Linked DNA regions of Homo sapiens: region 2 is linked to region 1. Evidence: promoter capture Hi-C in 16 types of primary human blood cells and fetal thymus (Javierre and others, 2016). All regions are on one chromosome and are shown on one strand. The core of a region is centred on a gene start or on the middle of the fragment in contact, and the rest is flanking DNA. Distances in the headings are between cores, read along the strand shown. Region 1 holds the start of GDF9 (growth differentiation factor 9). Region 2 overlaps SLC22A5 (solute carrier family 22 member 5).

Region 1 (4,922 bases), core at 2,123-4,622:
TTTTCCCCGTATCCTGCCTCACAATGTAGTTTATCTTTTAGGTTTTGTTTTGAAGTCTCGCTCTGTCACCCAGGCTGGAGTGCAGTGGCACAATCTTGGCTCACTGCAACCTCCACCTCCCAGGTTCAAGCGTTTCTGCCTCAGCCTCCTGAGTAGCTGGGATTATAGGCGTGTGCCACCACACTCAGCTAATTTTTATATTTTTAGTAGAGACAGGGTTTCACCATGTTGGCCAGGCTGGTCTCAAACTCCTGACCTCAAGTGATCCATCCACTTCAGCCTCCCAAAGTGCTGGGATTACAGGTGTGAGCCACTGTATCCGGCCATGTTTTGAAGTATCTTAACTTTTGATTCTTAAAAGGCAATAGCAGTAATTAGGATAATAAAGATACAGTCTGGCCAGGCACGGTGGCTCACACCTGTAATCCCAGCACTTTGGGAGGTCGAGGCAGGTGGATCACGAGGTCAAGAGATCAAGACCATCCTGGCCAACATGGTGAAACTCCGTCTCTACTAAAAAAAAAAATAAAAATACAAAAATTAGCTGGGTGTGTTGGTATGCGCCTGTAGTCCCAGCTATTTGGGAGGCTGAGGCAGGAGAATCACTTGAGCCCGGGAAGCGGAGGTTGCAGTAAGCTGAGATTGCGCCACTAAACTCCAGCCTGGTGACAGAGCAAGACTCCCATCTCAAAAAAAAAAAAAAAAAAACACAGTCTGACCCAGAATCAAAGTTGCTGCTAGCAGGAAGAGTCCTTAGAAGAGTTTCTAAAAACGGATCTCAGATCCCATAGCATATACTGTACTGACTGAGCTATGACAACTCATCATATTCCACATACCTGCTACCACAGGTGAGATCCATGTCCCGAAGCTTAGAGAGAAGCCTCTCTAAGGAACTAGAGGCATAAAACTGCCAACCACACCTACCCCCACCATCTCTCGGTGGGCGAAGGGAAAATGGTATCTTTAATACCAAAAAGATAATTTAAAGGCTTTAGATCAGGGGTAAACTTTATTCATAAAGGGCCAGAGTAAATCTTTGAGGCTTTATGAACCACATATGGTTGAAAACATTGTTGGCCTCCTGGCACAGAAACAGAAAACTGCTGTGGAGGCTAAGAGATCACCTCATCCGTTTTATAGCTGATATCCCCTCAGGCTAAGGCCTGCCTTAGGAGGAAAGGCAGTAGAGCAAGCTTGTCCAACCGCAGTCCTGGGCAGCAAGCAGCCCAGGATGGCTTTGAATCCGACCCAACAAAAATTTGTAAACTTTCTAAAACGCTGAGGGTTTTTTTTGCCATTTTTTAAAGCTTATCAGCTATTGTAATGTTAGCGTATTTTATGTGTGGCCCAGGGAAGCTAAAAGATTGGACACCCCTGCAATAGAGCATAGTTTTAAGAGCATCACTTTAGTGCAAGACTCCACCATTCACTGCTGTATAATTTCTGGCAAATTACTTAATCTCTCTGTGCCCATTTCCTCATCTGCCAAATGAGGATACGTTAAAGGTGCTTGTGAGGTTTAACAGTTCATTTGTGTAGCTAAGAAGAGTATTTGAGGCCCAGAGCACCATGGCTTACGCCTGTAATCCCAGCACTTTGGGAGGCTGAGGCGCACAGATCATCTGAGGTCAGGAGTTCCAGACCAGCCTGGCCAACATGGTGAAACCTGTCTCTACTAAAAATACAAAAAATTAGCCAGGTGTGGTGTCCTGCACCTGTAATCCCAGCTACTCGGAGGCTGAGACAGGAGAATCGTTTGAACCCAGGAGGCACAGATGGCAGTGAGCCGAGATCACACCACTGCACTCCAGCCTGGGTGAGAGAGCAAGACTCCATCTCAAAAAATAAAAAATAAAAGCGTCCCTGACACATACTAATTACAATATAGTTAGTAGACTTTATTGTTGCTATGGGAGCAGAGGGCCAAGAACCAGCACTCGCCATAGCCCATGTCACCCACAAATGGTTAGATGCAGGAGTACCTGCAGCTACTTTCTTGTAGATAATGGAACAAAGGGGGAGCCCTGCTCTTTCACCAAAACCCGAGACCAGGCAAAACTTCAAGACTCATGCTGAGGAGGGGCGCTTCATGAACTTGAATATTAGTGGTCACACAGGATTCTACTCACAAAAATGTAATATCACAACAGTGCAGACCATAGGAAGTTTATTGTGTCTTTGAGACACTACAATGCAGACTCCTCTTCCAGAGAAAGGTCTTTCAGAGACAGGGAACCGTCATCCGGATGCGTTGCTCATTTGTCATTTTCATAGGCAGCTGGATTCTTCCTCTTGGATCTCTCGAACTCTTCAGTCCCCCATGTGTAGATAAGATAAAACACTACAAACTCTTTAAAAATTAAGAGAGTAAACAGAGAGCACACATATAAGACATATAGAAGAAAAAAAAAGGTCTCAGTCCTCTTGTCTTCTTTAAAGCATACACTTCAGTAGTTCTTAGCATATCCAAGGCCATGCAACTATCATCACTATCTGCTGCACGTTTAACACAAAGCATTTCACCACTGGTAAGAACTAAATAAAGGTGACCTCAGAGGAACATGCTGGAATCACCCGAGTGACCTTGGGCCAGTCATTTCAGTTCTGTAGCTCAGTTTTCCCCGTGTAAGATGGGGAGGATAATATGACCAGCTTAAGGGCGGTCAGGAATATTCAATGAGAAAGGTGTGTACGGCAAGTTACAGAGCGCCTGCCCGGCCGCCAGCGCTCAGAGGGGAGGCGCAGTGACTGCTGCTGCTGCTGGGGTCCAGCCTCCCGCTCCCGCGGGCCCAAGGCACTCACGCGGCACCACGCGAAAGAAAGACTCCCGAATGCGGCGCAGAACATTGGGGATTCCTTTAGTGAAGACGTGCGGATAGGCGCGCTGCTCGAACGGTGACAAGCTGTAGCTGATCACATGCCGCATCCGCGTCAGATTCCCAAACTCGCGGCCCATTGTGGCGGCGGCCCTGCAGGACCGAGGGTGGACAGGCGCTTGGCTCGCTTTCGCGAAGCGCCGCAGTCCCCGCGGGGGTCCATCCCCAACCCCAGACTCCTGCCCCTGCACTCCTTATCCTTTCCCAGCCCAGCGGGGCGCCCCTAGCCTCCCAGGGTCCACGAACACTGCACAACCAGACCCCACTCACGCACAGGGCTCAGCTCGCCCTCCACAGTCACCGATCCGGTTGACTCGTTCGTCATTTCCGGCAAGGTTGGAAGCCGCTCTTGGAGGTCGTGAGGTAACTTCCGGGAGATACCATTTTCCTACTGTCTCTAAGGGATGACGCCTTTGTCCCAGAAAGAAGTGGGCTGACTGGGTGACCCGTAGGTGGGAGGTGCCTTGGAGGCCCTGCCCGGGCCGGTGGGGTGGAGCCTAGCGGAGGACGTCGGGGATTGAACTGACTTTGGGGGACAGTGGACAGGCGGAGGCGCTCACACTTCTCCTCAGCCCTCGGCTTTTCTGTGGAATCCCAGTCAGGAAGCGGCCGAATGCGGGAGGCGGGGGAGGGAACAAAAAGGTGACGAGGAAGGGGCCTGCCGACCTCCGGGGCAGCGCTGGCCAGGAGCTTGGGGCCTGCGAGTCTTCCCAGCTGTAGACAGAGCGCCTCTGAGCCCCGAGGCCGGGCCGCCCCACAGCAGAGGAGCACGAGGTTTCATTTGGCCTTGGCCAGTAGCTCAAAGGGGGCTTCGTTATTTTCAGGCCATGAGCGACCCCAGCACCAAAATCAGGGACACACATCGAAGGCTTCTCTTGGACTCTGTTTTAGAGTCCCCTGGCAGGCTGTTAACGTTCCCAAGAGATAATACAAACGTTTCGTCAGTTTCAGCCACAAAAATAATCAAATAATCGTCAATTGATGAATGCTGAGGCCGCCTCGACAGCAGCCAGCGTCCTCCCCAGATGGTTTGCGTGGGGTGGGGGGAATCACGATGCCCCAGTTCTTTCTTCTCCCCACGTGAGAAGCAAGGAAAGTCGGGTGAGAGGCCTTATTATGTTTTCCCTGAAGTGCATTCTGCTTGACGATGCTGTTGTCAATGTACAGCTCGCCCTGAGGTGTCTTGTCAGTGTTTTGTTAATGGAATTGCTGGCCATATTTTATCTAGGACTAAGCTCTCATTCAACAGTTGGCTGTGTTTTATAACACTACTTACGGACCACGGAGGCTCGGCAGGCAGTCAACTTGTATTTTGCAGACATACCTTAGTTTTCTCATGTAGGTACTGCACAAACTGGCTTCGTATCTTGCACTATGAGTGTAGGCTGACTCTTCCAGCATAGTCTCCTTCGGGGTGGCGCTGAATATCCCCTCATTTCAGCTTTTCATGGTGCTCCTTTGCCTCATTTTTTTAAACCATAATGTCTAGCCTGGTCTCAGCTCCAAGGCAAGAACAGAAATACAGGTAAGGACAGAAATATTGTGGCAAATTCTACCACCATTTGGATGAATAATAATAAAACGTTCATTTATTTTATAGCATCTGCAAACATCCCAAAACCTTTCAACCAAAATATGTATAGATGAGTGTGCAGACCAAAGTAAGGACATCAGTATGTTACATTTAAAAATAAGTCAAGGTTAAAGGCGGTGTCCTCTTTTAAGAACATCGCAAATACAATTCCAGTACTCCAAGTACGTATTCTGTACCCAGCCACCTGGGAGGACTGAGAGACCTAATGGTTTTCTGCTTTCTGGAACTTCTATGCCAATTGTGACTTTCTCACCCAAATTTGTAAATTCGCAAATTAACATGCAGCGAATAATTACAATTGTAAACACCTGGAAGTGGAAAAGGCCGTGAGGATAAATTGAGAGGAAGAGTAAACCTAATACCATAAGTTGCATACCAGCAGATCTGAGTATCGTCATGAATAATTGGTTAGCTTTTCCACATGCCTTAGAAGTTTCAGCAAGCACCTA
Region 2 (5,175 bases), core at 2,265-4,764, 470 kb after region 1:
TTGGCTCAACCCTGGAAGTGACTTGGGCTCTTGCCTCACCACATGAAGAGCTCTAAGCATTCAGGTAATTATGGTTTTTGCCCTCAGAAGGCCACAAATGACTGGAATCAGTGGCATGGAGAATAAGAGAGAAAATGCAGAAACTATTCACTCCTGCTACAGGACAATGGGTAGACAGAACTGCAATTCAGATTCTAGAGCCCCTGGGAAGACAGTTAATCAGTAGTCCAGCACAGAACCATGTTTGAGGAGAGTGGAGAAGCCAACAGTGTTCCAGAAGACGTGCTGCCTTCCTTCTCCCCCAAGTTTGATGCTGCTTGTTTTGTTATGCAACATGCCCTTGAGTTTCTATCCAACACTGGAGCTTTTTACCCAGGTCCATCCACACCTTCTAGCCCAAAATGCCCTGTGCAAATTGTATATAGATTAAGACACCTCTTGTGCACCACACTCAACCCCCAATCCTCTCAGCCCACCACTTACTCCAGCCACTGTTGCAGTGACCAGTTCTGATGGGCTCTGGCAACCCCTACTTCAGCCCTGCAATGTATTCTCTCTTGCTTTCTACCCACGGGACAGAACTTATTTGGGACTCATGCATGTGCAGCCTGGAAACATGTGGAGCTGACACCTGTGGGCTGCCTTTACAAATGGATGCCAACAGAGAAATGCTTCCCCCTTTTACTCAAGGTACAGATGGTGTTGAGATGCATTTCATAAGCTTCTTCTGAAGTCCTTGCTGGATGGAGCATCCCTGCCTTTGGTGCTAGTCAACCTGAAAATGCATCTTTGTATTCAGCCTCCCTCCTTCCCTGTTCTCCTCCTGTCCTTTATTGCTGCTCCCTGGAATCTTGTCCCCAAAGCATAAACTGCTTAACTGCACAGAAGCACTTGTCTCAGTCTCTACTTTCAAGGGAACCCAAGATACATTTGTGCAAGAAGGCTGGCTCAGCCCATAGTCAATTAATAAAGTGAAGAATTCTAGTGCACAAGAATCAAATCTTAGTCTTAGAGATTAATCCCAACCATTGCTAGAATTAGCCCAAGCTGATACAGAGAAAAGGCAGATGACAGTGTGGCACAGGCTCACTAAATTCTAGAAATAAAGATTCTAGGCAGTTGCTGTTATTTAAAAAATCATTTTACTTATTAAAACTTTCTCATTTCCCAAGGCACTTCAGTAGCTTTCACAAAAACATGTTTGTTCTTTTTTAACCAGGTGAGGCATATGCTTTAGGAGTACCATGGTAACATAATCAGCAAAGAGAAGACAATTACACTGAACACAAAATATCACCCAATAAAGTTACAGGACTAAAGTGAGCTACTCTGAAAGACTATGAACACAATTTAAATTTCTTTTTTGTAATATCCTCCCATGACTAAGTATCAAGAAAGGAACACACACAATGACACTGTTTTTGGCACTTAGAGAAGTGCTAGAGGCTAGGGCTGGTAAGGCCTTGCACCAGTGGCAGCTGCAGACAATTGCCAGAGTGATTCTGTTTTAAAAAAAAAAAAAAAAAGACACAAACCAGGAGGCTAAGGAACCAGCCTTTCCCAAGTGCATTCTGAAGGGCAAATAACAAGGAGAAAAGGATACAACAACAAACAAATAAACAATAAAACAAAACCCACATTACAGCTTTGAGAGAAAAGACAACGTTGCTCATCTCTCTCACCTGATAAATTTCCTTTAAACCATACATAAGACGCTATAGTAGCAAGGAGGTTTCCACAGCAGTGGAAAACAAGAATAGTAGATTCAATGGAGCATTTATTATGAGCCTGGACAAGCCCAGTGCTTTGATCAGATGTAAACAAGTCTACTCAGTCGTCATGCTGAGTGGTCTTAAGAGCTCACACATCAGTGCACTTTGCTGGTGATCTGCATCTGCTCATTCTGCTCCATCTTCATTACCTTTCACTTTCCCTAGCTCTGCGCTCTCCTGCCCTGGGGAAGCAATGATCCAGTTAATGTCCTCTGTAACTGAGAAAAGGTAAGAATCAAACTCCTTGTGCAATTACTTCCTTTTCCTCTAAAGTTCACCACTAGAGGGGAGTGGGGAAAGGGGTGGGGGACTTAGACCTCTAGCCTTATTAGGGGCCTTTTCAAGTAGTCTAAAATTAAAATGTACATTTAGCATATGCTTCTCACATTCCTCCAGATCTCACTGGTTCTAGTGAAAAATTAACTGCTTTGGAGGTGCTGAGTCCATCATTGTAATAGTTAGGACTTAGATGAAGTTGTCTGTAGGTAGCCCCAGTGTCCCTAGAGGAAGGTGGTGCTCTAGGGCCATATGTAGCCTCTGAGTGTGGGTGCCCATCCAGGAGCAAGTCAGACACAGGTCAAGAGGACAAACAGCAAAGGCCTTTTGTCACTGAAGGACTCGGAGTCTGCACAAGCTGGCCATTTCTGGCAAGACAGTCTTTCCTCTTCAGTTTCTCCCTTACTGGAAGCGATGTTAGAAGGCTGTGCTTTTAAGGATTGTGGGCCTTTCTTGACCATCTTTTAACATCCTTGTGTGACTTGGAGTTTTTCTGTGTTTCATTCTATAAAAACAAGCAAAAATATGTCAGTAACACATTTTAAAAAGATGCCTCCCAGTCTCCAAACAAACAAGAACTGAGGATATCTTCCCTGGGAAGAGAATCCTGCAGCAGATTCTGAAAGGTTTCTTCTAGCCTCTGAGTTATCCAGTGCGGCTACTGCCATGGAGATGTGTATAGTGACATGTCCACACAGGAACAGACCAGAGAGGATGGGCTATAAGTAAGCACCTTGCCATTTACAACCCTTTAATGGCTAAACTAGTCCATGGTGTCTGTGAGAGGGAGTTTGCGAGTAGCTCTATTGTGAGGGGCTCCTGAGACCTGGCCAGACCCAGACCCAGTGCATCAACACTGACAGAGGAGGTCTTCTTACCCTTTGACTCTTAGCATCTGGTCAATGGTGTCTGGGAGTGGGGTACCGAAGCTCTCTGGGAGAAACAAGGTGAGGATGGCTGTCAGGATGGTCAGACTTCCCATGAGAATGTAGGGCAGGAAGCGGTCGTAGGCACCTATGGCAAAGCAGACGGAGCCTCAGGCCCAGGGCTGCAGTTAGACTTGGTCTCTCATCTACCCCTTTATGCTCCCAGGACTCTGGAAGGGGATCACTTTCCTTCTTGGTCTCACATCTCTCACAGTCTGAGCAGTCAGATTAGAATCTGGCATCTAGACAGGTTTCAGAACCCAGAGCTGGCACAGGCATGCCCAGAGCCCAGCAGTGTTCCACCATGCAGGGGAGGAGTACAAAGGGGCGGTTGCAGTAGAAGAGCTGGGCCATGCTGATTATTCCTATTTCTGGGCCATGCTGATTATTCTTATTTACCAAGGTTGGGTTTCCAAGGAACCTGAGGTACTTGTCCAGGGATGGAAATAACTCTTCCACCTCTGCAGATGTGTCCCAGCCCATGTGATCTGCCTTCAGATTAGGCAGGGTGCTTTTGCTTGCTTTGAGATCTACATAGCATGTTCACAAAGCACTCTGAGTACTCTCAGGTGGGTGCCACCCTCCCTAAAGAGGTACTGGCTAGGGATGTGCAGGAAACCACAGGTGCTATGAAGACATAATTCTGAGAAGAGAAAACTGGAGACCTGCTACATAAAATGGCATGGGGTGGATCTTCACACAAGATAAAATCACTCTATAGTGCTCTAGGTTATAATAATTTTCCGTTCATCAGACCTCTTGCATGGACATCTTTCCCCTCATGTTCCTTTTAAACTCTGATTCCAAGAAATTTCTCCAACTAAGCACACTGGCTCCCTAAACCACTCTGTAGGTTCTTAGGATAAAGGAATTGTAGTCTCTGATGGAAGGCCTGGGATGGCTAAAACAGAAACAAACCCTCTAATATTCTCATCAATTTCTAGGTAATCTATAGGTTGTTTTCCATTTGAAAGTGAGGGCCAGTGCACTGGGACAAGAACCCTTCCCGGCCAAAGATCCAGTACTGGATGGAGCCCATGTACTGTATGAACTTGTTTTCCTGTTAACACGCAACCTCCAGCTCACATTCAAGCCAGTTAGTACTTCCATCCCGTTGCTCTAGTGTGCCCTTGGCTCATGGGACTTACCAAGGTAAACGAAGTAGGGAGACAGGATGCTGCCCAGGCGGGATGCTGTGGAGCTGACTCCCACACCCATGTTTCTCACCACTGTGGGATACAGCTCGGCTGTGTACACGTAGACCATGGAAAAGGCAGCCGTGACTCCAAACTTGCCCACCATCACCAGGACTGTAGCCAAATAATACAAGTCTGGAGAAGCAAAGGAAAGAGGGTAGGAGTAGGTACCAACCCATGGCATGCAGCTATTGAGAGCAAAACAAACATACTTTCTTCCCAAATTTTTTGGGGAGTCAGTTTCTATCACTTCCTATTGTGGGGGAAGGGGCTATAGCCAAGATTTCCCTCCAAATTGATTGCTGAAAGGAGGCTGGGACCTGCAGCTATAAGGACATGCACTTTCCTCAACCTGGAGACCACCAGAGTAAGCTCCTTAATAGTCCAATCAACCTGCTTCCCAGTCTATAAGTCATTAAAGACATGTCTGTCAGGGATTAACTGTCACCCCAGAACCTCACACTGCAGGCACTATGGAATTAACTCATGATGTTTAGATGAATGGAGAATTCAGTTCTAACTCATTTCATGCTTTCCTCCCACTCAGACCTCAAAAAAATCATAGGCCATCAGAATCTCAAGTTGATCTTCTAATCTCTCTGTGCTGTGCTGATGGGAGAGCTATGTGTGACCTGAAGGTCACTCTGAGCTCAGCTGTGAGCCTCTACATCAGTTCTGGGCTCCTCCTGCCACATCCCATGGGGAGCTGTTCCCGTGCAGTGTTCTCAGCCTGATGGGCCCAAAAGTGACCATCAGAGGCTCCCAAATCTACAGGTACACTGAAGTCTCTGGGCACAGTGATGGAGAGGGAGAGATGAGGGCCCATGAACTGTTCTATAAATTATTGGAAATGGCTACCTCCCACCCATCTGTGGGATACTAAGATAGTTTCAGAAATAAAATCCTGCTAAGGCTCTGTGAGGCCCTCTCAGTGGTCTGGCCCCTCCCCTTCTCCCTCCTCCTCAAACATGCCAGGCTCATCCCCTGCTCAGGGTCGCTGCCTTT

What was found. The method cuts DNA at HindIII sites, captures the fragments that hold promoters and counts their contacts. A CHiCAGO score of 5 or more calls a contact.
Region 2: a fragment that was not itself captured here is called in contact with the fragment with the promoter of GDF9 in region 1 in 2 of 17 cell types (total B cells and naive B cells); the score reaches 7.3 in total B cells.

Annotation. Positions count from the first base shown.
Region 1 is chr5:132,864,919-132,869,840 of GRCh38, reverse strand. GDF9 (growth differentiation factor 9) reads left to right here and starts at 3,372. Exons shown (of 2, transcript NM_005260.7): 1 at 3,372-4,922. UQCRQ (ubiquinol-cytochrome c reductase complex III subunit VII) reads right to left here and starts at 3,199. Exons shown (of 3, transcript NM_014402.5): 1 at 3,154-3,199; 2 at 2,806-2,972; 3 at 994-2,353. The coding sequence starts at 2,959. The coding sequence ends at 2,259. RefSeq lists enhancers at 2,861-3,361, 3,362-3,862, 2,721-3,920. The HindIII fragment of the contact is 4,688 bases long and covers 1,313-4,922 here.
Region 2 is chr5:132,391,563-132,396,737 of GRCh38, reverse strand. It overlaps SLC22A5 (solute carrier family 22 member 5), which reads right to left. Exons shown (of 10, transcript NM_003060.4): 8 at 4,123-4,305; 9 at 2,927-3,062; 10 at 1,126-2,553. The coding sequence ends at 2,466. Among named protein-coding and RNA genes, the nearest start is that of CARINH, 17 kb to the left of the region's middle. The HindIII fragment of the contact is 5,582 bases long and covers 724-5,175 here.